Linked DNA regions of Homo sapiens: regions 1, 2 and 4 are each linked to region 3. The links are contacts of gene promoters, found by promoter capture Hi-C in blood cells and fetal thymus (Javierre and others, 2016). All regions are on one chromosome and are shown on one strand. The core of a region is centred on a gene start or on the middle of the fragment in contact, and the rest is flanking DNA. Distances in the headings are between cores, read along the strand shown.

Evidence for each region. Contacts are between HindIII fragments. The CHiCAGO score rates a contact against its expected background, and 5 or more counts as called.
Region 1: a contact is called between a fragment that was not itself captured here and the fragment with the promoter of OR51E1 in region 3, in 1 of 17 cell types (total B cells). The highest score is 5.4, in total B cells.
Region 2: a fragment that was not itself captured here is called in contact with the fragment with the promoter of OR51E1 in region 3 in 5 of 17 cell types (total CD4 T cells, total CD8 T cells, naive CD8 T cells and 2 more); the score reaches 9.2 in total CD4 T cells.
Region 4: a fragment that was not itself captured here is called in contact with the fragment with the promoter of OR51E1 in region 3 in 4 of 17 cell types (activated CD4 T cells, total CD4 T cells, naive CD8 T cells and 1 more); the score reaches 10.2 in activated CD4 T cells.

What each region holds. Positions count from the first base shown.
Region 1 is chr11:6,345,436-6,348,722 of GRCh38, reverse strand. It overlaps LOC101927825 (a long non-coding RNA gene), which reads right to left. Exons shown (of 7, transcript XR_930998.4): 7 at 2,354-3,287. Among named protein-coding and RNA genes, the nearest start is that of CAVIN3, 27 kb to the right of the region's middle. The HindIII fragment of the contact is 1,733 bases long and covers 1,117-2,849 here.
Region 2 is chr11:5,797,266-5,800,353 of GRCh38, reverse strand. No RefSeq gene overlaps it. Among named protein-coding and RNA genes, the nearest start is that of OR52N1, 7.5 kb to the right of the region's middle. The HindIII fragment of the contact is 803 bases long and covers 1,045-1,847 here.
Region 3 is chr11:4,642,463-4,645,801 of GRCh38, reverse strand. OR51E1 (olfactory receptor family 51 subfamily E member 1) reads right to left here and starts at 1,820. Exons shown (of 2, transcript NM_152430.4): 1 at 1,772-1,820. OR51D1 (olfactory receptor family 51 subfamily D member 1) reads right to left here. Exons shown (of 2, transcript NM_001004751.3): 2 at 2,742-3,339. The HindIII fragment of the contact is 7,717 bases long and covers 401-3,339 here.
Region 4 is chr11:5,814,151-5,817,214 of GRCh38, reverse strand. All of the region lies in intron 1 of OR52N2 (olfactory receptor family 52 subfamily N member 2), which reads right to left. Among named protein-coding and RNA genes, the nearest start is that of OR52N2, 6.8 kb to the right of the region's middle. The HindIII fragment of the contact is 3,529 bases long and covers 1-3,064 here.

The sequences.
Region 1 (3,287 bases), core at 734-3,233, 1.7 Mb before region 3:
GGAAACTGGTCATGTCACATTTCTCATGCCATGTGCAGAAACGGAAAAAAGATGTCCTGCTGTTATCTAGGATAATTAATCTTTTTAAAAAATTAATTTTTAAGTTGACTAATATAAATGGTATAGATTTTTTAGTGTACATGTTTTGATATATGAATACACTGTAGAATGGTTAAATTGAGCCAATTAACATATCAATTACCTCAAATACTTACACATTTTTTCTGTGGTGAGAAAGCATAATCTACTCTTAGCAATTTTCAAATGTATAATACATTGTTATTAACTATGGTCATCGTATTGTACAGTAAATCTTCTGAGCTGATTCTTCCTGTCTAACTGGAGGAAACTTTTGTGCCTTTTGATCAACGTCTCCCCAATCTCCCTACTCGCCCAGCACCCCAACCCCCAGCCCCAGCTACTGGTAACTACTTTTTTTTTTTTTTTTTTTTTTTTTTTGTTGAAACGGAGTCTGGCTCCGTCGCCCAGGCTGGAGTGCAGTGGCGCGATCTCGGCTCACTGCAAGCTCCGCCTCCCGGGTTCATGCCATTCTCCTGCCTCAGCCTCCCGAGTAGCTGGGACTACAGGCGCCCGCCACCACGACCGGCTAATTTTTTGTATTTTTAGTAGAGGCGGGGTTTCACTGTGTTAGCCAGGATGGTCTGGATCTCCTGACCTCGTGATCCGCCCACCTCGGCCTCTCAAAGTGCTGGGATTACAGGCGTGAGCCACCGCGCCTGGCCGCAGCTACTGGTAACTTCTATTCTACTCTCTGCTTCTATAAGTTTGACTTTTTAAAGATTCCACATATTTCTGAAATCATGCAATATTTGTCCTTCTGTGTCTGGCTTGTTTTACTTCACATAATGTTTTCCAGGTTTCTCCATATTGTCACAAATGAAAGGATTTCCTTCTTTATAAGGGCTGAATATATCCCACATTTTCTTTATCCATTAGGATGGTTAACCTTGACTACGACTGGAGAAAAGTGCTTTTCTTCGCTCTCAATGGTTCATTTCACATGGAGGGAGCTCTTTTAGAGTAATAATACTGGCCTCCCTCTCCAGAAGAGAAGTCAATGACTTAGCTAAATGATACATTTGGGAAGAACAAGCTTCAGCTTTCCCAGTTGTCTCTTTGGGATCCAGGTTGACCTCAAAAGCATGCACTTCAAAGGACATTCTAAAGGGGCTTGCCCCATTGGTAGACCTCATTTTTCCAGTATGAACTATAGCTGTGTAGGTAAACCTCTTTTTATTTCTGGGATTCACTATTAGAAAGTTATTTTATCCAATGATATAAGCCATCTTTCTAATATTAACTTTGTCAGTCATAGAAATGATTATTGGTTTCTACCTTTTAACTGGTGTTGAACTCAGGAGAGGGAAAGATGTGCCGTTTATTGAGGCACATCTTCAACACACAACTTCAACATCTGATTCACTGGACCAGGAGCCTTAAAAAATAAACAGGGAGTGAAATTTGGAGACCCAACTATTATGTTAAGAGGCTTTTGGTGAAGCCAGTTTTGGGTTTGGACTTGAGCAAGCATACATTTGTGATTGCAGTGGTTTTGTGGAAGTTTATATTAAGCCAGAAGTCTCTTTTAATGGATGTAACTGGTTTTTATCAGTTGTAACTGGGGAGGAAGTTTCAGGTTTTCATTGCTGGCCAGGGGGAGTTTTTTTTTTTTTTTTTTTTTTTGATGGAGTCTCACTCTGTCGCCCAGGCTGGAGGGCAGTGGCACGATCTCGGCTCACTGCAACCTCCACCTCCTGGGTTCAAGCAGTTCTCCTGCCTCAGCCTCCCAAGTAGCTGGGACTACACGTGTGCACCATCACACCTAATTTTTGTATTTTTAATAGAGACGGGGTTTCACCGTATTGGTCAGGTTGGTCTCGAACTCCTGATCTCAGGTGATCCACCCTCCTTGGCCTCCCAAAGTGTTGGGATTACAGGCATGACTCCCCATGCCCGGGCCCAGGTGGGACTTTCACCTTGATGGGGCCCCACAAGTCTCGGGTAAGGATCTGTTACCCACAGGTTACCTTATCCACAGGTAAGGATCTGTTTTTAATAGAGGCAGGGCTCTGGGCTGACCTTAGGGGAACAGTAGATGGGTCTTGCCTGCCTTCAGCCAAAATGTCTCTGTCAAGGTGCATGTGGGTGTCCTTAATATTCAAAAGGGTAGGCCTTAGCCAGATGCCACTGTGGGCGGGGTTGGGGGATGGCTCAGTAAAGACACAACTATAGCCAAAGTGAGAGCCTTGGGTGTAATGTGCTGTAGATTATTCTTGAACTACACAGGTATTAGAGCAGGACAAGCTGCAGACTAAACCTCTCAGACACCGAGTTAAGAAGGAAGGGCTTTATTCGGCTGGGAGCTTTAGCAAGACTCACATCTCCAACAACCAAGCTCCCCGAGTGAGCAATTCCTGTCCCTTTTAAGGGCCCACAACTCTAAGGGGGTCCACGTGAGAGGGTCGTGATCGATTGAGCAAGCAGGGGTACATGACTGGGGGCTGCATACACCGGTAATTAGAATGGAACAGAACAGGACAGGGATCTTCACAGTGCTTTTCTTATGCAAATAACCGATTAGGTCAGGGGTCGATCTTTAACTACCAGGCCCAGGGTGTGGCGCCGGGCTGTCTGCTTGTGGATTTCATTTCTGCCTTTTAGTTTTTACTTCTTCTTTCTTTGGAGGCAGAAATTGGGCATAAGACAATATGAGGGGTGGTCTCCTCCCTTAGTATCAGAGTTAGGATATGCACATGAGCCATGTGAGGGCCATGAAGATGCTGGTGAGGTGCAGTGCCGTAGTGAGCAGGGACAGCTGAAGCAAAGCTTTAATCAAGGAGAAGAGAGAGAAGAGAAACAGAGAAAGGAGAGTCCTATATCTGTAAAAGACACCCTGAATCCTTTAGATGTGGGTGGGGTGCAGAACAATTATTTATTAGTTGTGGTATTCACCAGTGTAAGTAGGCTGCTCCAAATCTGATCCACTAAGATGTTTTGAAATGACTTTATCCAAGAAAGGGAACTATGGAGAGACTATCCTGGAATTCTTAAGGCTTATCTCAGGCTCAAGTGCTAGTCTCATATCTTGAGAAGCCTAAGATACATGAATAAAAAAGGAAAAGGTGATGCAACTAGATGTAATTGCTCTTAGAGTATCAGAAAAATATGAGCTGATTGCGTTATTATTAGCTCAGAAACAGTCATTAGGTCCTAAATAAATCTAACAAGATAAAAAAGCATAGATTTCAGTGATGGCTGAAATTACT
Region 2 (3,088 bases), core at 197-2,696, 1.2 Mb before region 3:
AATTACAAAACATGCTAGTTTTTGTGCCAATAAAGTTGTCCTGTATAAGGAGAGAGTAGTGAGATTATTTTCATCCAGAGAAAAAAATATAAAAACGCATTTTTCACAATCTAAATAATAAATTTAGGAAAAAATAATCATTTTGTATCCAAACTATGTTTTTTGATTCTATTGAATGGTCCTATGACTGTAACTGAACCAACAGAATAAAAACATATTGTAAACATAGTGCCAAAGCCCTGGCCTGGCTTGGTTTTCTACTGGAAACTCTGTTTATATGTGTCTGCTTACATTCCTGGGCCATTTAGTAATGCTTGACTTTGCAACCTCAACCAATTTCCAAATTATAAACTCTATTTAAGTAACATTGATTTTCTTAATTCACTACAAACTATCCCTTCTTTCAAGAAATACTTTGAGATGTGTCCACTGGGTTATAGTTAATCAAATTATGTCAGCACCTACCAATTATGCACTTCTATTATGATTCAGCTTGATCTATATACAAGTGTAAACCTGGCAGGTCTGGATTTTCCAAGTCAGAAAAATCAAGGACAGAGATGGGAAGGGCCAAAAAGGTACATAATAAGTTACAATTTATAAATCATGGCCATGTGTATTTTGTATTCGTCTCTTTTTGTATTCTTTCAGGTTTCTTGATGGTAAGCATGAAATATTTTTGAAATGTTTGCATTTAGCTAATAACATTATTAAGCTCTACGTAATTTTCATGCTTTTTGTTAACTCTCCTCAAATCTCTATGTTGATAAGCATGATATATATAAGCATGATACATATGATAAATCCATGATATATATCACTCTTTAAGTGTGCTTACATATACTATTAATATACAGTACATGTATTACCTATGATCATAATTTTATACCTTCTTTTGATGTATCATTTTTAGCCCCCAAATAACTATAGACAATTATATTGGGTAGGATAAAATCTTTACTAATTTTTTAGTCCAGTTTTTGAGAATGGTTAGCTTTCCATCTTTCTTCTGAAGTCTGAAACATGAATCTAACCTTGTAAGCTTTTCTGATTAAAGTGAGACTCCATAGTCTTACCTTTTGTTTCTTTCCTTCTTTCTTTCTTTCTTTCATTCTTTTTAAAAATATTTCCCCAGTTATTGGTTGCTTTAGATTACCAAATTGAATTATTCATTTTTCCATATCATTGCAGTTTAACAAATTATTTTATATTATCTTCTGTTATATGTTAATCTCCTTCTTCAAAGTTCTAATTTTGATTGCTTCTCTCTCTCTCTCTCTTTCTCTGTGTGTGTGTGTGTGTGTGTGTGTGTGTGTGTGTGTGTCCGTCTGTCTCTATCGCTGTGATGGGATTTAACCTAGAGTTTTCTACAGAGTTTTTTTTAACCATTAATCAGTGGAAATCTTTTCAAGTGTTGCTGTATAAATAATCTCAGTATATAAAAAAGATAAAAGTAAAACCTTCTAGAAAACAATAAAAAATAGAACTGATTATTTTTAAAGCATTTTGCTTTAAGGCAAAATACTTTTAATGTTAAGTAAAGTAAACCATGTAATTTTTCAGCACAACCTGGAACATAATAAGAAAAATACGTAATACTATCACAATTATTGTTAGTATTATTATCATTATATCGCTCTACAAAATAAGTGAAAATAAAATTATATCCAGCCATCCCTTAAAACCTCCTGGATACTTCCGTCTTACTCAGAGCAAACACCAACATCCTTATATTTGTTTACAAAATCCTACACAATTAGGGCTCTTTTAAATATCTGAATGTATCTCCCAGTATTCTAATTCTCATTCTCTCAGTCCATCCATACCTACTGAAGTTTTCTCAAGCTTAACAAACATGTACAATTAAAGATATTTCTACTTGCAGTATCAATGCCTGCTATGTTCATCCCAAGCTGTATAATGAACGGATGGATGAATAAATTCTAAAATCTCCTTTTTGGATGGTTCTCCTGCTTATACATAAATACCTTAACAAATTAGTGTCACAATAAACTTTGAAAAATAAAAACGTATTAGGAAGACATGATTTCAAGTTTCAAGATGTCCTTAATCTTATCTACAAAAATTAAAAATTAATGAAATCGGAGATATTTAGAATTGGGAAGAGTACATGTAGTAGATGCATGCAAATTGTCTTTTGTATTATTTTGCATATCCCCAAAATAAACATATTATAAATAGAAAAATGTTACAGAAATGTAAATTTGGCTTTGAGGAATGTTGCCCATTCACACAGATAAAATTTTCTAATAAGATAATGGGATCACTGCCATCTGAGGTATCAAGCAGTGGGAAAACGGCATATGTCATTAATGTCGTCAAGAACTTGGGCTACATGATCACTAGAATTTCTTCCAAGTGTTCTTTTTTTTAACTTTTAAGTTCAGGGATACAAGTGCAGGTTTGTTCCATAGTTAAATTTTTGTCATGGGGGTTTGTTGTGGAGATTATTTCATCACTCAGGTAATAAGTCTAGTACCCATTAGTTATTTTTTCTGATCTTTTCCGTCTTCCCACCCTCCATCCTAACTCTTACACTAATTCATTTTCAATGGTAGAGATGTTACTGCTTCCTGAGGAATACTCTTCCATCTATGGAGGGCAGAGAAGTTTTTCTATTATTGTATAGAAATATGCTTGCCTATATCTCTTTGGTCCTTGTCACATCAGCCTCATGGAATCCCCTTCCTTCAGGACCTAAACTACATTTAATTTTCTCCCTCTTCTCCCTCCTCAAGGCAATTTGCAAATTCCTTGGTTTCAAAATTCTAAAGAGTGAAGTAATTCAGAACTTCCTTATTCAACTGCTCTCTCATTTAAATCCCTCCTATATAGTAGCAATTTTGTGCATTTTATATATTTGTTTTCTTTTTATCTGAACCATTTTCATCCAAACTCACCCTGGTGCCAGATGTTTTTAAATTCCCATTCATGACTGATATTACTTAGAAATAATTGCACAATATTGATGAGGAACCCTATGTAACAAACTTAATATCTTCTCTGGGGATTTTCCAAGCCAAGGTAAAAAAATTCTTTGGGGCTTTACAGATAGATGTCCCATAGG
Region 3 (3,339 bases), core at 571-3,070:
CACTCAAGTCAGCCTGACCACCTAAAATCACCCCTAGGCAGAGTTCCTAGGTTTCAGGTCTCTGCTCCTCCACTTCCTGAGTAGGACCAGATAAGTGTTCTAAAGATCTGCAAAGCTGCACCTAGTTACCAGTTCCCTGTAGAGCTATTCTGGCTGCAAGCAAATGTAAGGCAAGGGAAATGCCCAAAGTGGGATTTTGATCAGTGTACTCATTTTTTCAATAATCATTGACGGACTTCTGTGCCAGACTCCACTGAGTACCAGAGATATCGTTCCAGCCTTCCAAGGATGGGGAGAAATTGAGACAAATATGCAGCCATCACAGCACATTATGATAAATTCTGGGACAAGGGGAAGCAAAAGGGCCTCAGAAGCAAAGACAACAATAGCTCAGCAAGCTTTTTAGGTTCCAAGGGCTTCCCTGAGGAGGTGACATTTAAGCCATGGCAGTGGCGGGACCTGCTGCAGGCAGGTAATGGGGCAGTGACACAGGCAGTTAATGGGGTGGGGCACAGCAGCATTCGGTTAGACAACAAAAACATATTGAGTGTCAAAAACTGGAGATGAAACAGTAGATAAATCAGACAAGATGATGGCTTTTATGGAGCTCATATAACACGAGGCCAATAATGAGAAGTAAACAAATAAAATTTCAGTTGAAGATAAGGGCACGAAAGAAAGAGTGATAGGACAGAGGAAGATGGGTGCAGGACACTCATACTGGAGACAGGGGTCAGAAAAAGCCTCTCTTAAGGATGTGACATGTGATGAGAAAACACCAGCCATTCTAAGATCCAGGGAAAGTGCATTCCAACTGTGGGAGACAGCAAGAGAAAAGCGTCCCCCAGCAAGAATGATATTGGGGGATTCATGGAACAAAAGGAAGGTCAAGGTGGCCAGAGCATCAAGAGCACAACAGAGTTTGAGAAGATGAGGCGGGAGGAAGGCAAGGACCTCATCAGGTAACAGGGTCTTGCAGGGTATGGCAAGGAGCTTTGGTTTAATTCTGAGTGACTTGGGGGAATTTCAGCAACAGAACTTATCTAGTTTGTTTTTAAAAATACATCCTGGCTAATACAAAGAGCCAGAGAGAAAGAGAACAGACCTTGTTTGGAAAGCTGAAAGTGACTTAGTGTAGCTAGGGTAAAGAGTACAAGGCAAGGGGTGTTGCCGTGTGGACACTAATCTACTTTTTAAATGGGCTGAAGACTGAATCCTGATCCTAGACACAGACCAAGCTGAGATCGGAGCCCCAGGAAGATTACTAAGTCCCAGTCTCAGCCACAGCCTGACTCCTGATGTACAGCATACAGTGAAACCAACCTCACTCAGAGCCCCACTTCCACCCCAGCTGCAGCCTCATCCCCAGTCATAGACTGAGCTTCAACCACGTTCACCCTGTTCACACACCAAACCCCGACCCAACCCCAATGCAGCCCCAGTCTAACCCCAGCCCAGCCTGTCCTCTGTCCTCTGTCCTCATTCACATCAGCCCCTGCCAGCCTCCAGATGGGCATACTAGTAAACTAATCACTGAAAAACTGCTTGAAAACTACCCTTAGGCTACCTCCAGCACCCACATGCTTTCTGTTCAGCACACAAACCTAGAGATCACTAAGGCTGCCTGTCCTTTGAGTCAGGGGCTTCCTACACATCTCCCACTTCTGGTTCTTCACAGCCTGGCTTCTCATGCACTCAGCAAGTCTAACAGGAGACCCCTAGCTGCAAGTAACCCATGCACCTGGACATGCCCCTGGCCTCCTGCACTCACCTCAACCGTATGGAAGGAATGTGTGACCCCCTTTGTCCAGTCTTCCTCCAGAAGAGGTCTGGCAGGCTGCACTGAAATACAGCCTCTCTGTCTCCGCCTACTCCCTTGGACCTCCCTGGTCAGGGTTATTTATTCTCTGCCTCACCCTCTCCCTCCTTCTGCTTCTTCCTGCAGGGTGGGGCAGAATGCTGTCCAAAGGGTACATCAGCAGGTACCCCTCACTAGCCCACTGTGGTTCTGGACTGCTTCTCAGCTTCCGTGCCCTGGGAGGATATGCCTGGGGGTATGGGGAGGAGAGGCAATGGGGAAAGGGATCTCTAGAGTCCTCCCCTGATGGGCTGCTGGGATCCTCATGCCAACTCCCAATGTGAAGGATAGATAGGGAAAGTGAGTAGAAAAAAGCTAGAAGAAACTCATTAGTGTAGTCTTCGTGACGGTCTTTATCCAAGTCTCTTCTCAGGTTTATCAAACTCAAACAGGAGAATGGCAAAGGAAGTTTGCAGAGACACTCCACGGTTAAGTGTCAGCCCATTTCCATCCTGAAGTGTTCTTTCTGTCCTCCCTTCTCTCATTTGGGGGACACTGTTTAGGTCCTTGCTAAGCGTGGAATTCACTGGGTCCATCCTCCTTTTCCCAAAGCCCTAGGGCTACATCTTTTTTTGTCTCCCAGGCTCTGGTCCCTGTGTCTGGATAACTTATAACCAAGGTCCCCAGGGACAGTGCCTCTGCCGTCCACTCTCTGGCCTTGGATTACTGAACTTCTGGCTGAGGACAGAGAACGTGGTTTCTTTAACCCTCCCCACCCCCAACACCAGCCACGTAAGACCAATGACATCTGGTTTCTCCCTTAAGGGCAAAAATAGTCAGAGAACATTTTAGAGAGTTAGAGAACAATTTGAATGTAAAACTAAATACCTCGTATTTTGAAATAAGTAAAAACTACATCTATAAATAGAACAACATGGTTTTTAGTTGGTCTCCCCTTATTTTTTACTGATCAGTTTCACAACTGTGAGTTTTAAATTCAGAACACAGGACACGCTAAATCAAGCTATGTTAAATAGATCATGGCAAATCAGACCATTCTAACTCAGACCACATCAAAATTACTGGTGACAACAGTTTCTGGTGCCTACAGAGCACGCAGCCTGACACTTGCTATCAGAACCCTGGAGCCATCTCTGCTGCCTCCATTAACCTCATTAACTTAGACATGGCAAAGACTTTAAAAAATACCAAAGGGACTTCTACTTCCATCCAATATGGAGTAACAATGAGACATGTGGAAGGACAGTGAGACATGAGACAAGGTGAATAATGAGGTGAATGCTACAGTTTTTTCAGCTTCCTGCCTTAAGGGAGTTTCCATGCGGCAACAGAAGGGAGATTGACTGGCTTCCCCTCCACCCTTGCTTTCCCAGAGGGATTAGGAGAAACTCCCTACAACCAAGGCTTTTTTTTTTTTTTTTTTTTTGACACAGAGTCTTGCTCTGTCACCAGGCTGGAGTGCAGTGGCATGATCTCGGCTCACTGCAACCTCCACCTTGCGGGCTCAAGCGTTTCTCCTG
Region 4 (3,064 bases), core at 126-2,625, 1.2 Mb before region 3:
ATTCCCATAAACTCACATTTCACCTTAATCCACTTCTGAAGTAAATGCTATTAAAACCTAAAGTCTGATGTATGTATTTCCAGAAATTTCTTTTATAAGTATTTAAAAAATTAATGTATTCCTTTTGTTGTTTTGTTTAGCTTTCAGCATTAGCAATATTACATACAGGTGTATAAAGATTCCTGCGACTCCTTGGAAACAAAACTTTCATTTAAATGAAAAATTTAGTTGTGTTTATAAAACAATAGAATACACACAAAATTATTTTGTCAAAATTTAAATTAATGCAGCTATTACAAAAATACATATATGAGTTTCAGTGTAAACTCTTCTCTTTTAGATCTAAAAATGTAGAAAAATGAGAATTGGTATGAAACATTGGTTGGATTTAGATCAGGAGGTCAGGCGCAGTGGCTCACACCTATAATCCCAGCACTTTGGGGGGCCCAAGAGTTTGAGACCTGCCTGGACAATATGGTGAAACCCGTCTCCACTAAAAATACAAAGATTAGCCAGGCGTGGTAGTGCAAGCCTGTAGTCCCAGCAACTCGGGAGGCTGAGATGGGAGGGTCGCTTGAGCCTGGGAGGCAGAGGTTGCAGTGAGCTGAGATAACTCTACTGCACTCCAGCCTGGGTGACAGAGTGAGACCGTGTCTCTCAAAAAAAGAAGATTTAGATCAGGCTTCCTAAATTGGAGACCATACATGGCCTCCGCACTGTTTACACTCAACTGCATGAAGACCTCCTATGCAGTTCTTTAAAAAGAAAGTTCATAGGGTGCCCTATAATTTATCACTTTGCTCATAAATATTTGTATTGTGTTTGGTTTAGTTATTGACATGCCCGATTCATTCTTTTTGTAGTGTAGTAAAATATACATAACAAAGTTTGCCATCTTAATCATGTTCAGGTATATACAGTTCAGTGGCATTAAATACATTCATCATGTTTTGCAGCCATCACCACTCTCCATCTCCAGAACTCTTTTCATCCTGTCAAACTGAAACTCTACACCCATTAAACAATAACTCTCCATTTGCCCTCCCACCAGCCTCTGGCAACCACTATTCTTTCTGCTGTCTAATGATTTTGACCTTTCTAGGTACTTTATATAAATGGAATCATATGATATTTGTCTTTTTGTGACAGGCATATTTTATTTAGCATAATGTCCTAAGTTTCATCTATGTGGTAGCAGATGTCAGAATGTTCTTCCTTTTTAAGTCTGAGTAATATTGCATTATATGTACAGGTATATACACACATACATATATATATACATATATAATGTATATATACACACGTATATACACACATGTATATACACACATACACATACATACTACATTTTGCTTATCCATTATTCATTCATCCATTGATGGGCAATTAGATTGTTCTTATATCTTGGTTACTGTGAATAATGCTGCAATGAACGTGTGACTGCAGACACCTCTTCAACATACTGATTTCAATTCTCCTGGGGATCTCACGCAATAGTGAGATTGCTGAATCATATGCTATTTTTAGTTTTAATTTTTTGAGGAACTACCATACTGTTTTCCACCGCAGCTGTAGCATTTTACATTTTTGCCAAAAGGGCACAAGTGTCCAATTTCTCTACATTCTCACTGACATTTATTATTTTCTGTTTATTTTTATAGTAGCCATCCTAATTGGTGTAAGGTGGTTTTTTATTGTAGTTTTAATTTGCAGTTCCCTAATGATTACTGATGTCCAGTGTCTTTTATGTGTTTATTATCCATTTGTATATCTTCTTTGGAGAAATGTCTATTCTAATCCTTTGCCCATTTCTTATTAAGCTGTTTGTTGTTGTTGTTGAGGTTTAGGAGCTCTATATATATTTTGGATATTAATACCTATCAGATATATAATTTATAAATATTTTCTTCTGGTCTGTGGGTTGCCTTTTTACTTTGTTTATAGAATCTTTTGATGCACAATTTAAAAACAAATTTCATAAAGTCTAATTTATCTGTTTTTTTCTTTTGTTTCCTGTGCCTGTGCCTTTAGTGTCATTTCCAAGAAATCATTACCAAATCCAATGTCATAAAATTTTTTCTCTTTGTTTTCTTCCAAGAGTTTCATAATTTTAGGTTTTATTTTTACGTCTTTGATCCATTTTGAGTTAATATTTGGACATGCTGTTATGTAACAGTCCAACTTCATTTCTGTACATGTAGATACCCAGTTTTCTCAGCACTATTTATTGTAAAGAATGTCCTTTCAACATTGAATGATATTGACACTCTTGTCAAAAGTAACTTTACCACATATGTGAGGGTTCACTCTGGGCTCTCTGTTCTACTTCATTGGTCTGCAGTTCTGACTTTGTGCTAGTGCCACACTGTTTTGGTTTACTGTCACTTTGTCATAAGTTTTGAAATCAGAAATGTGAGTCCTCCAGCTTTTCTCTTTGTTCAAGATTGCTTTGGCTATGTAGGGTCCCTTGAGATTTCATATGAATTGTAGAATGGATTTTTCTATTTCTGCAAAATTAATTATTGGGATTTTGATAGGGATTTTACTAAATCTGTAGATTACTTTGGGTTGTACTGACATCCTAACAATACTATCGTCCACCCCTTGAACATGGCATGTATTTCCATTTATTAATGTCTTCTTTAATTTATTTCGGCAATATTTTACAGTTTTAATTATATAAGTTTCTTGCTTTTGCATTAATAACAAACAATCTGAAAGGAAATTAGGAAAATAATTTAATTTACAATGGAATTAAAAATAAAATATAATTTTATTATGTATTTTGTATTTTCTTATGTATTTTATTATTTTATGTGCTATTGTGAATTGTTTTTTCTAAATTTCTTTTCAGATTGTTGTTAACGTATAAAAAGGCAACTGATTTTTGCATTCTGACTTCGTATCTTGTTACCTTGCTCATTTATTATTTTAACAAGTTTTGTGGAATCTTTAGGGTTTTCTACATAGTAGATCATTTCAACGGTGAACAAAGATAATTTTACTTCTTCTTTTTCAATTGAGAGGCCTTTTATTTCTTGTCCTTGCCTAATTGCTCTGGCTA